Regions from separate parts of the Homo sapiens genome. Here region 2 is linked to region 1. Evidence: promoter capture Hi-C in human tissues and cell types (Jung and others, 2019). All regions are on one chromosome and are shown on one strand. The core of a region is centred on a gene start or on the middle of the fragment in contact, and the rest is flanking DNA. Distances in the headings are between cores, read along the strand shown.

Region 1 (3,838 bases), core at 818-3,317:
CAGAAGAGCACCAAGTTAACCAATTATAAATCTATATAGAGAGAAGCAGATCAGAGGCCAGGCACAGTGGCTCATGCCTATAATCCCAGCATTTTGGGAGGCTGAGGAGTGGATCACCTGAGGTCAAGAGTTTGAGACCAGCCTGACCAACATGGTGAAACCTTGTCTCTACTAAAAATACAAAAATTATCCAGGCATGCTGGCAGGCGCCTGTAATTCCCAGCTACACGAGAGGCTGAGGCAGGAGAATCGCTTGAACCTGGGAGGCGGAGGTTGCAGTAAGCCGAGATCGTGCCATTGCACTCCAGCCTGGGCGACAAGAGCGAAACTCTGTCTCAAAAAAAAAAGAGAGAGAGAGAGAGAAGCAGATTAGCAGTTACCAGGGGCTGAGGGAGTGTGACTGCTAATGGGTACAGGGTTTCCTTCTGGAGTGATAAAAATGTTCTGGAACCCCATAGAGGTGATGGTTGCACAACACTGTGAAGGTACTAAATGCCCCCGAATTGTTTACTTAAACGTGGTTAATGTTATGTGAATTTCAGCTAAACAATGTTATGTAGATATTTGGCCGGGCGCGGTGGCTCACGCCTGTAATCCCAGCATTTTGGGAGGCCGAGGCAGGTGGATCACGAGGTCAGGAGATCGAGACCATCCTGGCTAATGCGGTGAAACCCCATCTCTACTAAAAATACAAAAAAAAAAATTAACCGGGCGTGGTGGTGGGTGCCTGTAGTCCCAGCTACTTGGGAGGCTGAGGCAGGAGAATGGCATGAACCTGGGAGGCAGAGCTTGCAGTGAGCCAAGATCGCGCCATTGCACTCCAGCCTAGGCAACAGAGCAAGACTCCGTCTCAAAAAATATATATAAATAAATAGATATGTGATGTGACAGGTTTTTTTTTGAGATGGAGTTTTGCTCTTGTTCCCTAGGCTGGAGTGCAATGGCGTGATCTCAGCTCACCGCAACCTCCGCCTCCAGGGTTCAAGCCATTCTCCTGCCTCGGCCTCCGGAGTAGCTGGGATTACAGGCATAAGCCACCATGCCTGGCTAATTTTGTGTTTTTAGTAGAGACAGGGTTATTCCATGTTGGTCAGGCTGGTCTCGAACTCTCCACCTCAGGTGATCTGCCAGCCTCAGCCTCCCAAAGTGCTGGGATTACAGGCATGAGCCACCGTGCCTGGCCTCTGATATGACAGTTCTAATGCCCTTTAGTATTCTATAATTCAGACTCAGGCCTTTGGAATCCAAAGCCCAGGTTTTTCTCACAAACCCACACTGCAGAGCGGAGTGGTGGAAAAAAATAAAACCTCTGCCTTGGAATCAGACAGATCTAAACTGGAGCCCTATTTTGTCATTTGCCAACTGTGTGACCTTGGGCAAGTTACCGCAACTCTCTGAACCTGTCTCTTTATCTGCAAGGTGCACGACTGATGGGACTATTCAACCAGACCCAGTGCACAGATTCAGGCACTTGATAAGACATTGAGGCTGCAGGCAGCGATCTTTTTTCTTTCTTTCTTTTTTTTTTTTTTTTTTTGAAATAGGGTCTCACTCTGCTGCAGAGGCTCAATCACTGTTCATTGCAGCCTTGACCTCCCTGGCTCAAGAGATCCTCCCATCTCAGCCTCCTGAGTTGCTGGGATCACAGGTGCAATCCACCACCACACCTGGTTAACATTTTTTTTTTTAGAGATGAGGTCTCTCTATGTTGCCCAGGCTGCACTTCCTTCTTGTCTCCCTTATCCCAGCGTCCGACTGAACTGACGGCTTTGCTTTCCCCAACCAGCCCGTGAAGCTGGGCTGAGTACAAAGTGGTGGGTATGAGGGTCAAGATTGTAAGATCTGAAAACTCCAGAAACCATCCCTTTGGTTAACAGTTGCTAAGGACAAATGCATAACATATTTTCCAGTGATCCCATGCTGGCAAATCGTCAGGGTCATTCCTGCAACAGACAGATTCAAGGCCAGCCCCAAACTCAGCCAAGAGCAAAGCAAACACTCCAGCCTTATCTGGGCAGGGTTGTGTGGAGACTGACTATAAGACTATACCTGAGACTGGTCATCTCAGTTCTTTTCTCACCTTGACTGCAAGATGAAACTCCTTGTGCTAGCTGTGCTGCTCACAGGTAGGCAAGTCTCCCCGGCTCCACCCGCCTTTCTCTCCCAAGTGAGCTAAGATCTCACTCCTCTGGAATGGGGGCCACAGGCCACAGCAAACAGGGATGGCCAGCCCCGCAGTCTCAATTCGAGGTTCCCAGTGGGGCTTAAGGGCTCCTCTATTGGGGTTCCCTCAAGGCTGGCACTTTTTCAACCTGCAAGTCTGAACTCAGATTGCCTGAGCTAAGAAAGCTTGCCTTTATTTTCTTTTTTCCAGACAGGGTCTTGCTCTATCACCCAGGCTGGAGTTCAGTGGCATGATCATAGCTCACCACAGCTTCCAACTCGTGGGCTCAAGTGATCCTCCCACCTTACTCAACTAAGTAGTTAGGCCAATCTCCCATTTATTTTATTTTATTTTAATTTTTATTTTTATTTTACTTTATTTTATTTTTGAGACGGGGCTCACTCTGTCGCCCAGGCTGGAGTGCGGTGGCGTGATCTCAGATCACTACAACCTCCATCTCCTGGGTTCAAATAATTCTCTTGCCTCAGCCTCTCAAGTAGCTGGGACTTGTAGCTCTCAAGTAGCTGGCACACACCACCATGCCCAGCTAATTTTTTGTGTGTTTTTTTTGGTAGAGACAGGTTTTCACCATGTTGGCCAGGCTGGGTGACCTCCCTTTTAGATTCTCCTCATCCTGCTCTATTCTTCCCCTTTCTAATGCAGTATCCAGTTTCCTTACTTATCACATTTATTATTATTCTTATTATTATTGAGACAGAGTCTTGCTTTGTCGCCAAGGCTGGAGTACAGTGGTGCGATCTCGGCTCACTGCAAGCTCCACCTGCTGGGTTCACGCCATTCTCCCGCCTCAGCCTCCCCAGTAGCTGGGACTAAAGGCGCCTGCCACCACGCCCCGCTAATTTTTTTGTATTTTTAATAAAGACGGGGTTTCATCGTGTTAGCCAGGATGGTCTCGATCTCATGACCTTGTGATCCGCCTGCCTCGGCCTCCCAAAGTGCTGGGATTACAGGCATGAGCCACCGTGCCCGGCCTTATCACATTTATTATTTATTGTTTTTCTCTCCCACTAGGTTGTAAGCTCCATGAGGTTAGAGATTATTATTATTATTATTATTATTATTATTATTATTATTATTATTATATCTGTTCACTGCTGTATCTCTAGCTCCTAGGACAGAGCCTGGCACATAGTAAGTGCTCAATAAATATTCACTGGATAAACAGTGCAGATAGTTTAAAACTATCTGACCTAGGGAGGCTGAGGCAGGAGAATGGCGTGAACCCGGGAAGCAGAGTTTGCAGTGAGCTGAAATCGTGTCACTGCACTCCAACCTGGGCAACAGAGCAAGACTCCATCTCAAAAAAAAAAAAAAAACTATCAGGCCTAGCTGGGTGGCACATGCCTGTAATCCTAGCTGAGGCGGTAGGGTCCCAGAAGAAGAAGAAGAAGAAAAAGAAGAAGATATATATATATATACACACACACAAAGATATAAACTTTATATATATAAAGTTTTCATTAAAAAAAAAAAAAAACCTCTACCCACTTTCACTTTACCAGGTTCCTGGGTCCAACGGTCTTCAGAGGAGGCAGCTGGCAGGGGTCAGGGAGGCAGCGTGGGACCCGAGGGAGCAGGAAGGCAGTGTGTCCCCGGGGTGCTGGCAGACCGATTTGAACTCTGGCTATGTCTTCTTGCAGTGGCCGCCGCCGA
Region 2 (3,838 bases), core at 407-2,906, 88 kb before region 1:
TGGGAGACTGAGGTGGGAGCATCACTTGAGTCCAGGAGTTGGAGACCAGTCTGGGGAATATAGTGAAACTCCTGTCTCCACAAAAAATTTTAAATTAGCTGCATGTGGTAGTATGTGCCTGTAGTTCCAGCTACTCAGGAGGCTGAGCTGGGAGGATGGCTTGAGCTCAGGAGATTGAAGCCGTAGTGAGCCGTGATTGTGCCACTGTACTCCAGCTTGGGCAACTGAGTGAGACTTTGTCTCAAAGGAAAAAAAAAAGGAAGAAAGAAAAACATTTGGGAGAAAAGAGGAAAAGATGTTATGGAGTTTAAAATATTTCTGGTGGGGAACAGTGGCTCATGCCTGTAATCACAGCACTCTGGGAGGCCTGAGGCAGGAGGATTGCTTGAGTCCAGGAGTTCAAGACCAGCCTGGGCAACATAGTAGGACCCCATCTCTATAAAAATAAATAAGTACCTATAATCCCAGTACTTTGGGAGGCTGAGGTGGGCGAATCACTTGAGGTCAGGAGTTCAAGTCCAGCCTGGCCAACATTGTGAAACCCCGTCTCTACTAAAAATATAAAAATTACCCGGGTGTGGTGGTGGGCACCTGTAATCCCAGCTACTCGGGAGGCTGAGACAGGAGAATCACTTGAACCCAGGAGGTGGAGTCTGCAGTGAGCAGAGATCGCACCACTGCACTCCAGCCTGGGCAACAGAATGAGACTCAGTCTCTAAATAAATAAATTACAAACTATTTCTGACTAGGCACTTTGACCTTATTATGTACCTTCACCCTCCGAATAAACATGTTAAAGTAGAAGCAGGTATCATTATATTCCCTGCCCATTTCACAGATATGGAGACTGAGGGTTGGTGGGGCTGAATGATAGCTAAGAAGTAGCAGAGCTGGGACCTAACCATATCCATGTGCCCCACCTCACTCTCAGCCTCAAACAGATGCAGGCAGATTGCCCACTCACCAGAGCCTCCCCCCTTCCCCAAACCATCTGCCCCTCTGATTGTTTTCTTGGGGCTCTAGAAGTCAGGCCTTTCAGCTCATCTTTACTGCACAGGGATTTCTCCATTGGCCGGTTTCTGCTGCCTGAGACCCTTGCCCAGCCCCAGCCAACACCAGCATGATTCACTTTCTGTTTTTTTGAGATGGAGTTTCCCTCTCGTTGCCCAGGCTGGAGTGCAGTGACGTAATCTCGGCTCACTGCAACCTCTGCCTCCCAGATTCAAGCAATTCTCCTACCTCAGCCTCCCAAATAGCTGGGACTACAGGAGTGCACCACCACACCTGGCTAATTTTGGTACTTTTAGTAGAGACAGGGTTTCGCCATGTTGTCCAGGCTGGTCTCCAACTCCTGACCTCAGGTGATGCACCCTCCTCGGTCTCCCAAAGTGCTGGGATTACAGGTGTGAGCCACCGCGCCCAGCCATGATTCACATTTGAACCTGAGACCAGAGCTCATAAATGCATTAATTCATTAATTTCTCAAACATTCTACATGCTATGGGATAGGTACTTGGGGTACAGAGAGGAGCAAAATGGACATTGGCCCTACTGCAAAGAACCTGAATATTCACGTGGAGTATTTCCCATCACTTTCTAGGCCTAGCCTTGATTTTTGCTGAACCCGGGCCAAGGCAGAGGCACAGGTGCCTCCACAGAGCAGAACCAGACAAATATTGTACACTATAGTCAGTGCAGGGATGGGAACACAACCTGGCTCTGTAAGAGGCCAGAAGAGGCCCTTGATCAATCTGCGGGTGGAAGGGAATCCATGAAGACTTCCTGCAGGTGGTGACCTCTGAGGCTGATTAGGAGGTGTTTGCCATAGTGTTTCATCATTTTCTCATTTTATAGATGGCAAAATGAGTCCAGAGAGAATGACTTAGCCCATGTATTCAATCAATTGAGCAAACATTTCCCTAATATCTACATTCCCCATTATTGAGCCCTGAGCCTGGGGATACAGAGGTGAATAAGGTTAACAGGCCTGCTAGAGGGAATGGTATAGAGAGGCCTCAAGTATCCAGGATACCTCACCAATCACTGCCCATTGGCCTCTGTTTTTTTGTATGTATTTTATTTTATTATTATTATTTTGTAAATTTTGAGACATGGTCTCACTCCGTTGTCCAGGCTGGAGTGCAGTGGTGGAAATATAACTCACTGCAGCCTCAATTCCCTAGCCTCAAGCAATCCTCCCATCTCAGCCTCCCCACTAGCAAGGACTACAGGCATGTGCCACTGTGCCCAGTTAATTTTTTTTTTTTTTTTGGTAGAGATAGGATCTTGCCATGTTGCCCAGGCTGGTCTTGAACTCCTGAGATCAAGAGCTCCTCCCACCTCGGCTTCCAAAGTGCTGGGATTACAGACGTGAGCCACCACACCTGGCCTATTTTATTTTACCTTTTTAAAAGTCAGGATTGGCCGGGCACGGTGGCTCACACCTGTAATCCCAGTACTCTGGGAGGCCGAGGCAGGTGAATCACCTGAGGTCAGGAGATTGAGACCAGCCTGCCCAATATGGCAAAACCCCATCTCTACTAAAAAATACAAAAATTAGCTGGGCATGGTGGTGCACACCTGTAGTCCCAGCTACTCAGGAGGCTGAGGTAGGAGAATTGCTTGAACCTGGGAGGTGGAGGTTGTAGTGAGCTCAGACCGTGCCACTGTAGTCTAGCCTGGGCAACAGAGCGAGACTCTTTCTCAAAAATAAATACATAAATAAAATTAAAAATGATAAAAGTCATGGTTATTGCAGTATACATACAGTAAAATTCTCCCTTTTTAGTACATATGTGGCAAATGCATAGTCCTGTAATCATCATCACAATCAAGACACAAAGACACAGGTCATCATTTGAATCTTTTTTTTTTTTTTTGAGTCGGAACCTTGCCCTTTTACCGAGGCTGGAGTGCAGTGGCGTGATCTTGGCTCACTGCAACCTCTGCTTCCCAGGTTCAAGCAATTATCCTGCCTCAGCCTCCGGAGTAGCAGGGACCACAGGCACGCACCACCACGCTCAGCTAATTTTTGTATTTTTAGTGGAGACAGGGTTTCACCATGTTGGACAGACTGGTCTTGAACTCCTGACCTCAGGTGATCCACCCACCTCAGCCTCCCAAAGTGCTGGGATTATAGGTGTAAGCCACCGCGCCCGGCCCATCATTTGAATCTTATGTTCATCCCACTTCCTGAGTCCAAGCCTTCCCCTTAATTCACTGTGTTATCTTGGGCAACTCTTGCCCTCTTTGAACCTCAGTTTCTTCATCTTTAAAATGGGAACCATAAAACCACCCTTACAGGATTGCTGTGAGGATGGTTGCCTGGCACACAGTAAGCGCTCAATTAACACCAGCTTTTATTCACACTCCTTCCCTTTTCTAGCCCTTTCAAACTCCCCCTCTCCCTCTGGTCTCTCTCCTTCTGGGTCTGTCTCTCCCTCTCACAGACACACACACAAACACACTCCCTCTGGGACACACACACACACTCTGGGACACACACAGGGACACACACACACACACACTCCCTCTGGGGGACAGACACACACACACACACACACACACATTTTGAAGCCTCTTGTTTCCCAGAGAGGTTTTATTTATAGGCTGTGCCTCATTGTGAATGTGAAAAGGAGAAAGCCCAGGCCCTCCGTAGACCTTTCATGTGTAAATCAGCCCGGGCCTGGAGCACGGGGTCACCAGGAGGAGGATTTCACTCTTAATTACTCCTAGAGAAAGCGGGCGGGAAGGAGGCCTCTCTGGGAGCCCAGGGCCTCGCCTGGCGCCGGGCCCCTCGCTCCCCAGGCTGGGGAGCGCTGGCTCTCCAGGGCCGGGA

Evidence for each region. The method cuts DNA at HindIII sites, captures the fragments that hold promoters and counts their contacts. A contact is called where the count stands out against the background at its distance.
Region 2: a contact is called between a fragment that was not itself captured here and the fragment with the promoter of PLA2G1B in region 1, in 2 of the 25 tissues and cell types used here (IMR-90 fibroblasts and liver).

What each region holds. Positions count from the first base shown.
Region 1 is chr12:120,326,008-120,329,845 of GRCh38, reverse strand. It overlaps PLA2G1B (phospholipase A2 group IB), which reads left to right and starts at 2,067. Exons shown (of 4, transcript NM_000928.3): 1 at 2,067-2,126; 2 at 3,826-3,838. The coding sequence starts at 2,093. The HindIII fragment of the contact is 11,861 bases long and covers 1-3,838 here.
Region 2 is chr12:120,414,029-120,417,866 of GRCh38, reverse strand. No RefSeq gene overlaps it. Among named protein-coding and RNA genes, the nearest start is that of COX6A1, 22 kb to the left of the region's middle. The HindIII fragment of the contact is 7,166 bases long and covers 1-3,838 here.